Linked DNA regions of Homo sapiens: region 2 is linked to region 1. The links are contacts of gene promoters, found by promoter capture Hi-C in human tissues and cell types (Jung and others, 2019). All regions are on one chromosome and are shown on one strand. Each heading gives the region's core, a stretch centred on a gene start or on the middle of the fragment in contact. The rest is flanking DNA. Distances are from core to core; before and after follow the strand shown. Region 1 holds the start of TNRC6A (trinucleotide repeat containing adaptor 6A). Region 2 overlaps PRKCB (protein kinase C beta).

Evidence for each region. The method cuts DNA at HindIII sites, captures the fragments that hold promoters and counts their contacts. A contact is called where the count stands out against the background at its distance.
Region 2: a contact is called between a fragment that was not itself captured here and the fragment with the promoter of TNRC6A in region 1, in 1 of the 25 tissues and cell types used here (dorsolateral prefrontal cortex).

What each region holds. Positions count from the first base shown.
Region 1 is chr16:24,728,277-24,731,063 of GRCh38, forward strand. TNRC6A (trinucleotide repeat containing adaptor 6A) reads left to right here and starts at 1,375. Exons shown (of 25, transcript NM_014494.4): 1 at 1,375-1,570; 2 at 1,977-2,024. The coding sequence starts at 1,566. RefSeq lists a silencer at 1,404-1,713. The HindIII fragment of the contact is 13,221 bases long and covers 1-2,787 here.
Region 2 is chr16:23,857,750-23,860,536 of GRCh38, forward strand. The region is part of intron 2 of PRKCB (protein kinase C beta); the gene reads left to right. Among named protein-coding and RNA genes, the nearest start is that of PRKCB, 23 kb to the left of the region's middle. The HindIII fragment of the contact is 4,841 bases long and covers 1-2,787 here.

The sequences.
Region 1 (2,787 bases), core at 125-2,624:
GTCATTACTAAAAATACAAAAATAGCTAGGCGCAGTGGTGCGTGTCTGTAATCCCAGCTACTTGGGAGGCTAAGGCAGGAGAATTGCTTGAACTCGGGAGGCGGAGGTTGCGGTGAACGGAGATCGCGCCACTGCACTCCAGCCTGGGAGACAGAGCGAGACTCCGCCTAAAAAAAATGATAATATAATAAAAAAATAAAAAAAAAAGCCAGTTGAAGAACTTAGGTTAGAAAAAGGAGAATGGGATGATCCACAGAGTGGGGTTTCTGAGAAAGTAAAGGTTATAGATTTTAAGCACAGAGGAGGAATTATCTTTAAATTAGAAGAAAAAGCTTGATGAGAGGTTGGAAAGAACACACGCAAGTGAAAATATGTATCTTACTGTATCTACATGTATGTGTATTGTTGTATCTACCTGCAGATATGTATGTCTTATTGTATCTACATGTAGGTATGTATGTATACTTTTAATGTACACATATGCATCTGTGTCTACATATATACATATCTTAGTCTATCTACATGTATGTATCTTACTGTGTCTACACTAAGATGTTTCTTACTGTGTGAGCTACGTTGGAACCTGCTTTTTCATTTATTCTATTGCAACCATTTCCTCCATGCCGGGATTATTCCTCCACATCATTTTTACAGTGTCCTAATACATGCCAGTAGCTGTTTTTGAAGCCATCTAGTAGCGCTGGACATTTTGGCTGTTTGCAATTTTTCACCATCATCAATACCACAGCTTAGTATCTCGAAGGTGAAATATTTGCAGATACCCAGAATTATTTCCTGAGCAGAAAATCCGTGCAGGCGGAACTGCTGAGTCAAAGGTCGGTGGATAAAAATCGCTTTTAAGCCTCACAACCCGCCTCAGGTATGCATTCTTTACCTGAGGAGGAACAGAGAAGCAGAGAGGTTAAATAACTGGCCCAAGGTCAAAAATAATTAGAAGTGGCTGAATTCAAAAGCCGCGCGGGCTCATCAGGCTGCAGTTGGGGTAAAATTTGCGTTTTAGGCAATTTTTTTTTTTTTTTTTTTTGGCGTGTGTCAGTGGGGGAGGGGCCGGGCGGCGGGTAGGAAACTTGTGTCGCAGCAAAGAAGGAGGAGGAGGGGAGGGACTCCCCTCCTCGGTCAGACCGGAGCCGGCCGCACCGAAAAAGGTTGGACTCGGGACTCCGCAGGCCCCCCCAGCCACTCCGCGGGGCGCCTCGGAGGCTGTGACCTCCAGGGAGGTCCGGCTGGGTGCAGCGTGACACGCCGGGGCGGTTGCCAAGGACCTGCCCAATCTGCGGGTCCAGTTGCTAGGGCCTCCATCTTGGGGGCCAGTGGCCGTGGCGCCCCCGGAAGGGGTTGCCGAGTGGGGCATTCACTTCCGGTCTGGGGCCTGCGGCGGCGGCGGTGTCGGCGGCGGCGGCGGCGGCGGCGGCGGCGGCGGCAGCGGGTCGGTGTAGAAAATGGCGCTGGTGCAGCGGCTCGGGCCTCTCCCCGCGGCGCTGCGGAGGGCTTGAGGCTCGCGAGCCTCCTTCGCCGCGCCCCACTTGCTCGTGCACTTTACACACATGAGGTGAGCGGAACAAGGGCCTCCCTCCGGGCGGGAGGAGCCGCGGGCGCTGCCGCAGGGCCCGCAACCCGCGGCGGCGGCAGCAGAGGCGGCGGCGCCGGGCGTCCCCGAGACTTCGGGCCTCGGCGGGAGGGCGCAGGCTGCGTTGCTGCGGAGGCCGAGCGGGCGGCCCGGGGGAGCCTCGCTGCGCCGCGCCGCGGGGGCCAGGCCGGGGTTGCGCCTCGCCCGCGCCGCGGGACCGCAGTCCGGGCTGCAGCCCCGCAGCTTTGTGAGTCCCCCTCCCCCCGTCCTCTCCCCTCCCCCATCCGGCCCCGGCGCGAGCCTCTGCCGCAGCAGCTCCGTTTTCACGCGCATCTCGTTTTTGTGTGTGTGTTTTTGTTTTGTTTTTGTTTTTGTTTTTTTGTTTCAGAGAATTGGAAGCTAAAGCTACCAAAGACGTAGAAAGAAATCTTAGCAGGTAAGATGGGCGAGCTTTCCGTCTCCCGCCCCACGATAATCGTATATTTCTACTCCGATTCGCCTTTTCTGGGTTGAGAAGTTCCCCCGTGACATTTTCTTCCGCACCCGGAGAGCAGACATTCGGGAGAAGCGGCCTGGGGGAATACTGGAGGGATTGCGGGGAGATGCGTAATTACGCGTGTGTTTCTTTCTTTAAAAAAAAAAAAAAAAAGCGCAAAGCAATTCTTGTAAACTTAGTTAAAGCATTCTCACCCTTTTAGAATTTAATTAGGGGACTTGTGCATTAATTACTATTGTAAATGGTTGCAGGCATTGTGTGACTCATGATTGAGGCGGCCCTTATGGCGGGCTGTCAAACTGTTTTGGCTTCCCCGTTATTACTTTGTAGCTCAAATTGTTGCTTTTATAAAAAGATACTATGTGTTCGCATTCCCCCCCGCCCCCCCCCCCCCCCCATACATTGTAGTCAGGCGGATTCTGTTGCATTGGACACAGTTTTGTCCTTGAACTTTACCAAGCATAAGCTGCGTTTTGTTTTCCTTCGAAACTCCATTTCTGTCCATGTTCGGTGTGTGCTCTTTTTATCAGCTGGTAAAATAATTAAAAATCTTTTCTCCAGAAGAGGTTATCGTTCCTGTTGGGCCCTGCTGCTTTTGCATCACCGTGAAGGGAGAATTTTTTTTTTTTTTTAAACGATGTCTTTATGGAATGGAAATATTTAGCTTCATTGAGCTGTAATTGCTTAAGCATCAAGGAATTGT
Region 2 (2,787 bases), core at 82-2,581, 870 kb before region 1:
GCGTCTGCAGTCCCTAGAAGGATCTCTATTCATTGGACAGAGAGGCCAAGGGAATTTTCCATTTCCTGGATGTCTTCAAAGATTTCAAATGCCATTAACTTGAGCTGACATTTATTGAGTACTCACTCGGTGACTGGCACTGTTCTAAGTACTTTACATGTATTAACTTATTTAATCCTCACAACAGCCCTGTGTGGCTGCTACTGTTATTGTTGCCATTTTATGCTGAGAAAACAGCACAAAGAATTGAGAAATTTTTCCAAAGTTACAGTTAGGATTCAAAAATAGACTTGGTTTTAGGATTGTGTAACTTCAGAATTGATGGTGACAATGACGTTGATGATGAGGATGATGATGATGATGATGAAGGCAGCTAATATTTCAGTGTCTGCAATGAGCTGGGCATTTTCACAAACTTTATCCCTTTGAATCTTTACCTTCCACTAAGATTTGCTGCTATTCTTATCCCTTTTGTAGATAAGAAAGCAAGCTTAGAGAAGATAAAACATTTGCTTAAGTAACTGCAGAGCGTAGATTGAATTCAGGTCCATTCGAGTCAGACTGTCTGTTCACCAAGGTGAAGGGCTCCGGGGGTCACAGAGGAGCACCATGGTGAGGAAGGCCCCGTAAGAGTGTGGCAGAATGGCAACCAGGAAGGATCTGGTATACGGGATGGTGATAAGGCCCATCTCTCATGGCCAGGAAAGTGTGCCTGCCACAGCAATGAATGAAACTGGCAACATTTGACAGGAAGGGGAAATTCTCTAGTGGGAGGAATACTTCCATCAAACTGTTTTTTTTTTTTCCCAGTGGGGGAGTTTGCACATGTGTAGATTTTTTTAGCCATAGCCTTGAATAAGGAATTCAGAAAGTGGCTTCTAGTTTGAGGACTTTCATTGGCCACGTGATCACAGTAGGCTGATTTCTTCATGCCTAAGTTACCAGGCTGGGAGGACAGGCTGAGAACTATGCAAGCTGTTGAGTCACTTGGAAGGAAGAGGGTTACATACAGCAGGCACTTTCATGGAATAATACTTCCCTGAAGAGCTGCACTAATTTATTGAGGCACTGAGCTGGATGCTTCACACACATGATCTCATTGAATGTCCACAGCACCCTAGGAGGTTGATCTCATTATTAACTTCATGAAGTGACTGAGGCTTAGAGATATTAAATAGCTTCCAGCCTGGGAAACATAGTGAAACCCCATCTCTGCAAAGAATAAAAAAAAATGAGCTAGGTGTGGTGGCTCGTGCTTATATTCACAGCTACTTAGGAGGCTGAGGTGGGAGGATCCCTTGAGCTTGTGAGGGTTGAGGCTGTAGTGAGCTTTGATGGCACCACTGCACTCCAGTCTGGGTGACAGAGTGAGACCCTCTCTCTAAACAAACAAATCCCAGGAGACATTAATTAACTTGCCACTGGTCTCTAAGCTAAGTAGTTGAAGAGGGCAACAAACCCAGGTGGTCTGACTCCTAGGCTTGAAGGTCCAGGTTCAGCTACTCCACCAGTATCCCTGGTCAGTCTTTGGCCAGGGCACAGAAGGTGGCATATCAAGTTGTGGGGTCTGATTTGGAAAGTGTGAGATCCCTCCTTTGTATCTTTTCCAAAGTCCACTCAGAAGAGAGTAGTGTAAAAGGAGTGATAGCACAGCGTGGTCTGGCTGGCATAGTCAGCCGCCCTGTGATGGGCAGGGGGAAGCTGCTTTCTGTCCTCAAGCAGCCCCTAAACTTGTAGGCCAGACTCATAAATCACACATTGATAACTCAGTGTGATGTGTGCTGTAATGGTGGAGAGGGGGGAGAAATGCCAGGAGCAGCTCACCTCCCAGGGTCCTGGGGAGGCTGCACAGAGGAGCCTGAGTTCTCAGTTGGGTTTTGAGGCAGAGGAAGCAGTGAAAGAGAGAGGAAGAATGTCAGTGAGGTGCGGGGAGAAGCAAGAGAGAGAAGACACTTGGCAGGAAGAAGTAGTTGAAGTACCCGGGGATGTTTAGCTTGAAGAATAGAAAATTTGGAGGAGGCAGAGAAAAGGCAGGAAACTTTAAAAGCAGGAGAGAAAGACCTCCAGGTTCCCAAAGGGAGCATGGCACTTCTCAAGGGGGTGAGGTTGACAGCATTAGGAGAGAGAGAGAGAGAAAGAGAGAGAGAGAAAGAGAGAGAGCGAGAGAGTTGTCAAGGAAGGGAAGGACCCATGGAGGGGAGAGCACAGGTGAAAATGAGAAGTGATGGGAAAATGGGTGGGAAATAAATGAAGTTTTGAGGCCAGTTGAGAAATCTTGCTTGGTGGTTTCTATTTTCTTTGTGAAGCAGAAAAAAAGAGGAATTAGACAGACCTGCATTCAAATCTCATGACCCCAGGCAAATTTCTTATCCTTAGCTTCTTCATTTTGAAAAAGGGGTGAATGATAATAGGACCTACCTAATAAGAGTTGTCAGGATCAAATATGTTAGTGCTTGTGTAAGATGCAGTGGCACCCTGGCACTTAGTACCAAAAAAAAGTACTATAAATGTTGTCACCTATTGAGGGAGTCCGGGTTTGGGTGCTTGATACATAGAAATATCATGAATAGCAGCAGAGAATACAAGAAGAAGAGAAAGCTTGGGGGAGAAGATAGAGAATTATGCGTTGGGTATGTTGAGGATGAGGTGCCTGTGCCATATCCGGGTGTAGGTGCCCAAAGGCAACTGGAAGTCATGAGAAGTCAGGGATAGAGGTAAATGTTTGGGAGTTGTTAATACAGGGGTGCATTTTTAAAATATCTGAAGTATGTTACTGGTGGCACTCAA